3 separate regions of the Homo sapiens genome follow, and all the other regions are linked to region 1. The links are contacts of gene promoters, found by promoter capture Hi-C in blood cells and fetal thymus (Javierre and others, 2016). All regions are on one chromosome and are shown on one strand. The core of a region is centred on a gene start or on the middle of the fragment in contact, and the rest is flanking DNA. Distances in the headings are between cores, read along the strand shown. Region 1 holds the start of ZNF778 (zinc finger protein 778). Region 2 holds the start of ZFPM1 (zinc finger protein, FOG family member 1). Region 3 holds the start of IL17C (interleukin 17C).

What was found. Contacts are between HindIII fragments. The CHiCAGO score rates a contact against its expected background, and 5 or more counts as called.
Region 2: a contact is called between the fragment with the promoter of ZFPM1 here and a fragment that was not itself captured in region 1, in 4 of 17 cell types (monocytes, fetal thymus, total B cells and 1 more). The highest score is 6.1, in monocytes.
Region 3: a contact is called between the fragment with the promoter of IL17C here and a fragment that was not itself captured in region 1, in 3 of 17 cell types (M0 macrophages, total CD8 T cells and total B cells). The highest score is 6.4, in M0 macrophages.

The regions. Positions count from the first base shown.
Region 1 is chr16:89,215,791-89,218,536 of GRCh38, forward strand. It overlaps ZNF778 (zinc finger protein 778), which reads left to right and starts at 1,913. Exons shown (of 7, transcript NM_001201407.2): 1 at 1,913-2,120. It overlaps ZNF778-DT (ZNF778 divergent transcript), which reads right to left and starts at 1,863. Exons shown (of 1, transcript NR_186410.1): 1 at 1-1,863. RefSeq lists enhancers at 451-745, 1,695-1,744, 2,269-2,746. The HindIII fragment of the contact is 989 bases long and covers 845-1,833 here.
Region 2 is chr16:88,451,890-88,454,635 of GRCh38, forward strand. ZFPM1 (zinc finger protein, FOG family member 1) reads left to right here and starts at 1,391. Exons shown (of 10, transcript NM_153813.3): 1 at 1,391-1,789. The coding sequence starts at 1,750. RefSeq lists silencers at 1,116-1,415, 1,426-1,515, 1,976-2,105, 2,326-2,395. The HindIII fragment of the contact is 8,831 bases long and covers 1-2,746 here.
Region 3 is chr16:88,637,199-88,639,944 of GRCh38, forward strand. It overlaps IL17C (interleukin 17C), which reads left to right and starts at 1,374. Exons shown (of 3, transcript NM_013278.4): 1 at 1,374-1,449; 2 at 1,783-2,111; 3 at 2,616-2,746. The coding sequence starts at 1,444. It overlaps LOC124903755 (a long non-coding RNA gene), which reads left to right. Exons shown (of 2, transcript XR_007065181.1): 2 at 1-236. The HindIII fragment of the contact is 4,920 bases long and covers 96-2,746 here.

The DNA of each region.
Region 1 (2,746 bases), core at 89-2,588:
GCTGGGCTTGGTGGCACGTGCCTGTAATCCCAGCTACTCTGGAGGCTGAGGCAGGAGAATCGCTTGAACCTGGGAGGCGGAGGTTGCGGTGAGCCAAGATTGTGCCCCTGCACTCCAGCCTGGTCGACAGAGCAAGACTTCGTCTCAAAAAAACAAAACAAAACAAAATTAAAAGAAAAAAAAACATATCCCAAGGGCAGGCACGGTGGCTGCAGTGGCTCACGTCTGTAATCCCACCACTTTGGGAGGCCGAGGCGGGTGGATCACCTGAAGTGAGAAGTTTGAGACCAGCCTGGCCAACATGGTGAAACTCCGTCTCTACTAAAAATTACAAGGTGGGCACCTGTAATCCCAGCTACTTGGGAGGCTGAGGCAGGAGAATAGCTGGAACCTGGGAGGCGGAGGTTGCAGTGAGCCAAGATCGTGCCACTGCACTCCAGCCTGGACGACAGAGGGAGACTCCGTATCAAAATTAATAAATAATAAATAAAACACATCCCAAACACTCATAGTGTTGAACCATTTAGCATGTGGTTGCTTTGTATACTTCGTGAAATTGTGTCCAATCTCTGCTAGCCATAGATAAGATAAATCCTGGGGCTCTAAAGACTGCAAGCCGTTGCTGCCCTTCAGAGCTTTGTGACTCAGACACCTGTCAGGCTGCTGAGAAACGTGATCTAGTCACGTCAGCCCTCCCCCTGTCTGATCTCCTTCTTCTCTGGGAGTTCTCTGCGCGCCCCCCGCCCACGCTCATTTTTTTCTCTTTTCTGAGTAGTGACCCCCAATTCGAAGCCTGTGGGTAATCTCATGGTGCGTGAGACTCCCTCACCCTCCAACCTGTCAAAGCTTGTGCGCCACCGCCACCTCCTGGGCACATCTTGTTTCTTAATCAGCCACGAAATCACGTGAACACTTCACATGTGGTTTTGTTTTGTTTTTCACATTTAGACTCCTGATCCGTTTGGAGTTTATCCCTGTGAGATCCAGAATTAATTTCATCATTTCTCAGACGGCTAACCATTTGTCTTAGCACCTTTCATTATAAACTGCATGTTTGTTCCACCGCTCTGAAATTATGTTTATGAACCAAATTTCCATGTTACTGGGTTGATGTCTGGATATTCCATTTGTTTCCTGTTCATGTGTCACTAGCACACAGTTTTAATGACAGAGGCTGTTTTCGCATCTGTCGGGCATTGCGCTTTTGTTTGTCCGCGTCGTCTGCGTTATGAGACATTTGTTCCTCCATGTGAACTCCAGGATCAATATGCCTGGTTCCAAAAAAAAAACCTTTTCGTATTGTTACTGGAATCATGTGACATTTCTGAATGAACCTTGGGAGAACCCCTGGTATCAGTGCTATTTTGCAACGTAGTATAGGTGGTCTTGGCTCCTACGGTACATTAGAAAAGTAACAGAAACGCATATTTGAAGCGAAAAATAGATGAACATTTACAGAAAAAAAAAATACCACATTGAAAATGCAGTGGAATCAACTGTTAAAAGTTCGGCGTGATGTTCAGACAGATAAAAAGGAACGGGGCCAGTGACTCCCTGCAGAGATCGAGAGAAGACCGAGCACTCCCAGCACCCGCGGGCTTCTCGCTGTGACCGAACCGCGGGCCGCGCTCGCGACGAGCACTTCCTGGCTGTACCCGCCCAACCGCGCCCTCCTGGTCTGTTCCGGCTCCGCAGTTGCGTCCAGAGGCCTGATCCTTACGTCCGCCTGGTCCTCCGGGCCTGTCTCTGCCTCCAGCCCGGTTCCCAAGGGCGCCCCGGGGCCCTCCCGCACCCTCGCGGAAGAAACTACTACCTCCCCGCACCATAGGCCAAAGCTTCGGCCCGGAGGCTGGAGGCGGAAGTGACGCCAAAGACGCGCCGGCCCCTCTTCCGGCGCCGGCCCCGCCTCCGCCTGTCTTACAGCTGATCCGGTTCTTGCGGCGGTGCGTGCTGGCGCCGGAGAGTTCCGCGCGTGTCCTCGGGCTGTCCGCGGGGAAGCTGGTCCGGGAGTGGGCGCCCGCCCGCCTGCCTCGCGCCTTGCGCCCCCGGCACCGCTTCCAGAAGGGAAAGTCGCCGCCGCTCGCGGTAGACCCGGGCAGCGCTTCCATTCCGCGGAGCTGGTGAGAGAGGGGCCCTTTGCTTCCTTCACTTTGAACAGGGCGTGTTTCTGTGAGAATCTGGCTTCGGCTTTGACGTTTTTTATTTGTTTCTGGCACATTGTGTTGGGACCGAAGCGTAAGGTAGACCCCTGAGCGCCCCGGGCGTGCAGCTCCCTGTGAAAGTTAGCCCGTGGGGGCCAGCGGGAGCGCGCGTCCCTCGCCGCCGGGACTTCCAGGCCCGGCCCTCGGGGCGGGAGGGATGCGGCCGTTGTCCCGCTGGTCTTGGAGTAATCGAATCCACGGTGAACAGTGTGTTTCGACTAACTGTATTTTTTCTCACGTTTTGCTTTAGAAAATCTGAATCTAATAAAAATGTGAACATCTGCTACAAGGAATATCCACTGCAATCGTTTTACTCCTTTTTAGCTTTGGGCCATGTTTTCTCTCTCCCCCAATAAATAAACCTTACGGTGAATTATTATTTGAGTGTAAGTAAGTTGAAATTAAACTGCACACATGATACTTAACCTTTAAATACTTGGTAAAGCGTCTGTTAAGGGTAAGGACATTATCCTACTGAAACCACAATATTAGTATTTCATCTAAGAAAATTAAAATTAGGCCGGGCGCGGTGGCTCACGCCTGTA
Region 2 (2,746 bases), core at 141-2,640, 760 kb before region 1:
CCCCTGCCTCTCCTACCCACCCGCCACTCTCCTGTACCAGGCTCTGAGGGTAAGCCCCCACTTCTCCCCTTCCTTGGAGCCAGGGAATAGGTCACAGAAGTTGGCACGAGATGGGGTCTTAGGAGCTCCCAGCAGGCTGGCGGGTGGTGTGACAGTCCTGCTGTGCGATGATCTCATCATCAGGTGGGAGGGGTCCTTCCTGTCTGCCCCTGGGCCCACTGACGCCCGTTTCTTATGAGTACGGGGGATGGGGGAGCAGGTAGCAAGTGTAGACCGAGAACATTAAAAGGAGATGATACAACTCAGCTGGGAGTGGGGGACAGCCCCCCAATGCGTGACCTTGAGCAAGTCCCCGAGCCTCCGTGAAGTGGGGCTCTTGAACACACCCCAGAGGGCAACAGTTCTCCATTTCCAGGCCTGAGCTGACAGCACCGCGCCCACAAACCTCGCTGACCTCTGACTGCTCCGAGAGGGGGCTGTGGCCCGGGCGCTGTGGGCAACTCCTTCGTGGGTCTCCTGCGGGGCGCCCTGGAGAGGCTCGGTGAGGAAAGAGGCCCCAAGTGGCAACGCCCAGGGCTGCCGGCTCCCGCGCCCCCTCCTCGATTTCCAGCCTGGTCTGAGCTCACAGGGGAAGACCCGAGATCCTGCTCTCAGTTGGCGGACCCCACCGCAGTCTGGGACGGAAGCCCCCTCCCTGGCCCGAATCCGCTCCACACCCCAAGTCTGGCCCAAGAGAAACGTGGGCGTCAAGGCCTCGGGCTTCCTGAGCCGGTTGTCACTGCCCCCACCGCGCACGTGGAGCGTGCGGCAGAGCCCAGGGGTCTAGGGAGGGACCAAGGGCTGGGGGCGGAGTTACAGTGCGGGGGCGGAGCCTCGGCGTCTCAGGACCCAACCAGGTCGGGTCAGGTTTGGAGGCGGAGCTGGCGCCGAGAGGCGGGGCGCAGGATGCGGTGCCGCGGGGCAGCAGAACAGAACCGAATAGGTCTCAGACTCCCAGCGCGGCCTGGGGACATGACCTCCGGGCCAAAGAGGAGTGGGGGAGGCTAGAGGTCTCCCCGGGGCGCGGGCGGGGCCGAACCAGGAAGGGGCGGGGCATCGAGCGGGGCGGGGACAGTGCCTTGAAGGCCCAGACGGACAGGGGCGGGGCCGCAGCGCTGGGGTCGGAGCCAGCGCCGTAAAGAGCGAGGCGGGCGGGGGCGCGGTCGCGGCTCTGGGGGCGGAGCCAGAGCAACGAAGAGCCGGGCTGGCGGGGGCGTGGCCGCGGCGCTGGGGGCGGAGCCGGAGAGGTGCAGGGCCCGGCAGGAGGCACGGGGCGGGGCCGGAGCGCCGGGGGCGGGGCGGGAGGTGCGGCGGCCGACGACGCTCAGGCCCGGCCCCGCCCCGTGCCTCCAGCCCGCCAGGAGCGCCCTCGCAGTGGCCGCCTGCTCCGCCGCTCGCCGCCCGCGGGTTCCATTGAGAAAAGCCGAGCGGCCGCGGCGGCGGCGGCGAGTGCGCGGGAGCGGAGGAGCCGGCACCCGCCCGTCGGGCAGTCCGCGCGCCCGCAACGCAGGACCGTGGCCTCTCGGGCCTCCGCGGCAGCTCCAGCGGCTCCGGGGCTGGGCGCGCGGGCTGGGGGCGCGGGCCGGGGCGGCCGCGGAGACCGGGGGCCGGGGGCATGAGCGGCCCCGCGGCCCCGCCGCGCCCCCGCCGCCCGCCGCCGCCCGCCCGGGGCTAGAGGCGGCCGCCGGGAGGGCGCGCGGCGCCGGAGACATGTCCAGGCGGAAACAGAGCAACCCCCGGCAGATCAAGCGTGAGTCAAACTTTGCCCGCGGTCCCCTCCGCGCGCCCGACCCCCGCCGGAGCCCAGCCGCCAGCGCCGCCCCCGCCCGTCCCCGCTCTGCCCTGGGCGCCGGCGACCTTCACCCCGCGCCGCGCCCCCCGCGCTGTGCCAAGCGCGCCGTAATCTAATCTCCGCCGGCGGCCTGGGCCCCCGCGTCTCGGCTTGGGCACCGGGGGGTTCAGCCCAGGAGGGGGCCGCCCGGAGGCCGGGAGGAGGGTGTTTGGGGGCGCGGCCCGGGCAGCTCGGCCCCTCGCGGCCTGCCCCTCCCCCGCATCTGCGAGATGGTGCGGCGATAGGGCGGCCCCGATCTGGGCTCAGATAAAGTTTAAAATATTACATTCTGCAAGTCCCGTCCTGATAAGATCGTTCTGTCGGGACGGGCTGAAATTGTGATCTTATCTCGCGCGGTTGACTCTCCCAGGCTTTGTATCTAGAAGCGAAGAGAGAGACCTGGGAGGCAGAGGGGACACCCGGGGCCGCGGAGATGCCTGGCCAAGTGGCAGGCACCGGCCCGCGCCCACCCCCACCGGTGCCGTCGCAGAGCCGCAGGACAGGGGAGGGGGTAGCGCGCAGCTGCCGCAGCCTAGGCACTTGGCTCCAGCCCCCCAGACACCCCCACCCCGTGCCCTAGCGCTGAAGTCCTGAACCCAGGCCCCGCCAGCCTGGTGACACCTCCTGGACCCTGCAAGTGTCCCAGCCAAGGCGGCATGGGCAACAAATGGTGCCCTCGGATGCCCGCGGGCACCCCCTGGCATCCCAATGGGCTGCTCTGAGTCAGAGAAGGGCCTCCCAGGACGCAGCCCCGGGCCGGGGTCGCCCCTGCACGCCACTAAGTTTCTCGCTGGTCCGGCTCCCTGCCCGGTCAGAGGCTGCTGCCCCGCCGCCACATTGCCAGTGCCCCCGCGATGAGAACTAAGCTGTCGGGGC
Region 3 (2,746 bases), core at 124-2,623, 580 kb before region 1:
TTTCCGGGGAAACAAAGGCACCTCCAGCGCCCCCACCCCCAGCCAGCCTCACCGATCAAGGAGGCCAAAGGCAGCTCCCGGCCCCGCTTACATAAAGCTTCCTGTGTGTGCTGGTCACACCTCACACCTCACGCCTCACGCCTCATGCCTCATTCACACCTCACACCTCACTCCTCACACCTCCAACTCAGACTTTTTAGCTTGAACTTTTTTCTCAATAAAACCACAGAAGCCCAGGCCGGGTGCAGTGACTCATGCCTGTGATCCCAGCACTTTGCGAGGCCGAGGTGGGCAGATCACGAGGTCAGGAGATCGAGACCATCCTGGCTAACATGGTGAAACCCCGTCTCTACTAAAAATACAAAAAAATTAGCCAGGTGTGGTGGCGGGCGCCTGTAGTCCCAGCTACCCGGCAGGCTGAGGCAGGAGAATGGCGTGAACCCAGGAAGCTGAGCTTGTAGTGAGCCGAGATCGCACCACTGTACTCCCCGCCTGGGCGACAGAGTCAGACTCCGCCTCAAAAAAACAACAAAAAAAAAAACAACACAGAAACCCAACAGAGACCTGAAGACGTGCCTGCCTCCCCCATCTCCGGGACCTCTCCCACCTGGGTGAAGGGGGCACGTGAGCCTCACCTGATCTTGACCATCTCAGCTAAAACACTGAACCACCCTTGGCACCCACCAGCAGCAGACGGAGAAGAACTGTATAGGGTGCAAAAGCGCCCCGCCACCATCAGGTCCAGATGAAAACCTACAAGTTGAATCAGCAAGGTGCTGACGGATACGCAAGCAGAAACCCTCTTATAGGAGGTTCAAGGCTGGGCGCAGTGGCTCACTCCTGTAATCCCAGCACTTTGGGAGGCCAAGGCGAGCAGATCACTTGAGGTCAGGAGCCTCAGACCAGCCTGGCCGATATGGCAAAACCCTGTCTGTACTAAAAATACAAAAATTAGCCAGGCATGGTGGGGGGTGCCTGTAATCCCAGCTACTCGGAAGCCTGAGGCAGGAGAATCGCTTGAACCTGGGATGTGGAGGTTGCAGTGAGCTGGGACAGCACCATTTCCCTCCAGCTCGGGTGACAGCAAGACCCTGTCTCAAAAAAAAAAAAAAAGTTTGAGAATGTCAGACAAGGCAGCACCCTGTGTAGGTGCTCAGGTTGGGCGGAGTCTCTCTCGGGGGAGGGGGGTAACAGGACAGCGCCTCCCGGGGCCTCCTTGCATGTCTGTGTCCTGATGCACAGCAGGCGGGGGCTGCGGGGACCAGAGAAGGAAGAAGCGCCCCAGCTGGGCACTTCCCGAGGAGGAAGTGGTGCCGGAATTTCCCCCAGGTGTGGCCTCAGGTATAAGAGCGGCTGCTGCCAGGTGCATGGCCAGGTGCACCTGTGGGATTGCCGCCAGGTGTGCAGGCCGCTCCAAGCCCAGCCTGCCCCGCTGCCGCCACCATGACGGTGAGCCTCTCCACATGCCGCTCGGATGGATGCTGCTTGGATGTGCAGCCTGGCATGGAAGGGCTGGGGTTCTCTGAGCCTGGGAGGAGGGTGTTGGGATGGGGTCTGGGAAACCCCTCAGTCTGGGGGTAGGGGAGGCAGCTGCAGATCCTCGGAGCGCTGGCATGCTGGGTGTCTTGGGCTGAAGGGCTAGCCTCTCTGGGCTTCAGTTTCCCCATCTATAGAGGGAGGGCTGTACTCCATCTTTCCGCTGGGAACAAGGAAAGCTGAGGTGGAAGTGAGGTGCCCCCTGCCCTGGGCACCTCCTAACCACCCACCTGCCTGTTTCACCAGCTCCTCCCCGGCCTCCTGTTTCTGACCTGGCTGCACACATGCCTGGCCCACCATGACCCCTCCCTCAGGGGGCACCCCCACAGTCACGGTACCCCACACTGCTACTCGGCTGAGGAACTGCCCCTCGGCCAGGCCCCCCCACACCTGCTGGCTCGAGGTGCCAAGTGGGGGCAGGCTTTGCCTGTAGCCCTGGTGTCCAGCCTGGAGGCAGCAAGCCACAGGGGGAGGCACGAGAGGCCCTCAGCTACGACCCAGTGCCCGGTGCTGCGGCCGGAGGAGGTGTTGGAGGCAGACACCCACCAGCGCTCCATCTCACCCTGGAGATACCGGTGAGGACCTGGGGATTCCGCTGTGGCGTGGGGCTGCCCCTCCCCTGGCGGGGCCCTGACTGCCCGGAGAGCTCTCTGGGCCTTGGTGGTTCTCACCTGTCAAGTGGGCGTGGCCACCTGAGCTCCCTCCCTCCGGCCCTCCTGACCTGGACGGCTGAGCTGCTGCTTGCGGCTGGCCGTGCCCTGCCTCCCACTGTCCTAGGTGGCCAGGGTCCCCTGGGGAAATTCTGGGCCCGTCACCTGAGCTCCTGCAGAAGTGGGGCTGGGTGATGAAGTGGAAGGGAGGCTCCTAGAGGCCTCCGGACCCTGCTCTGTGCTCTTGGAGGGCCCTGGGGAGACGTGGATTACCACCACATGTGAGCCCGACTGCACCCCAAGCCCGTGTGGCTCAGCCCTCGCTGCCTCAGGTCCTATCCTGAGTACACGGAGAGGGGCCCTGAGGGGAGAGGGGCCTCCAGGAGGACAGGGTAGGGCCAGAGACTCACTGTGCACCCCGTCCCGCAGTGTGGACACGGATGAGGACCGCTATCCACAGAAGCTGGCCTTCGCCGAGTGCCTGTGCAGAGGCTGTATCGATGCACGGACGGGCCGCGAGACAGCTGCGCTCAACTCCGTGCGGCTGCTCCAGAGCCTGC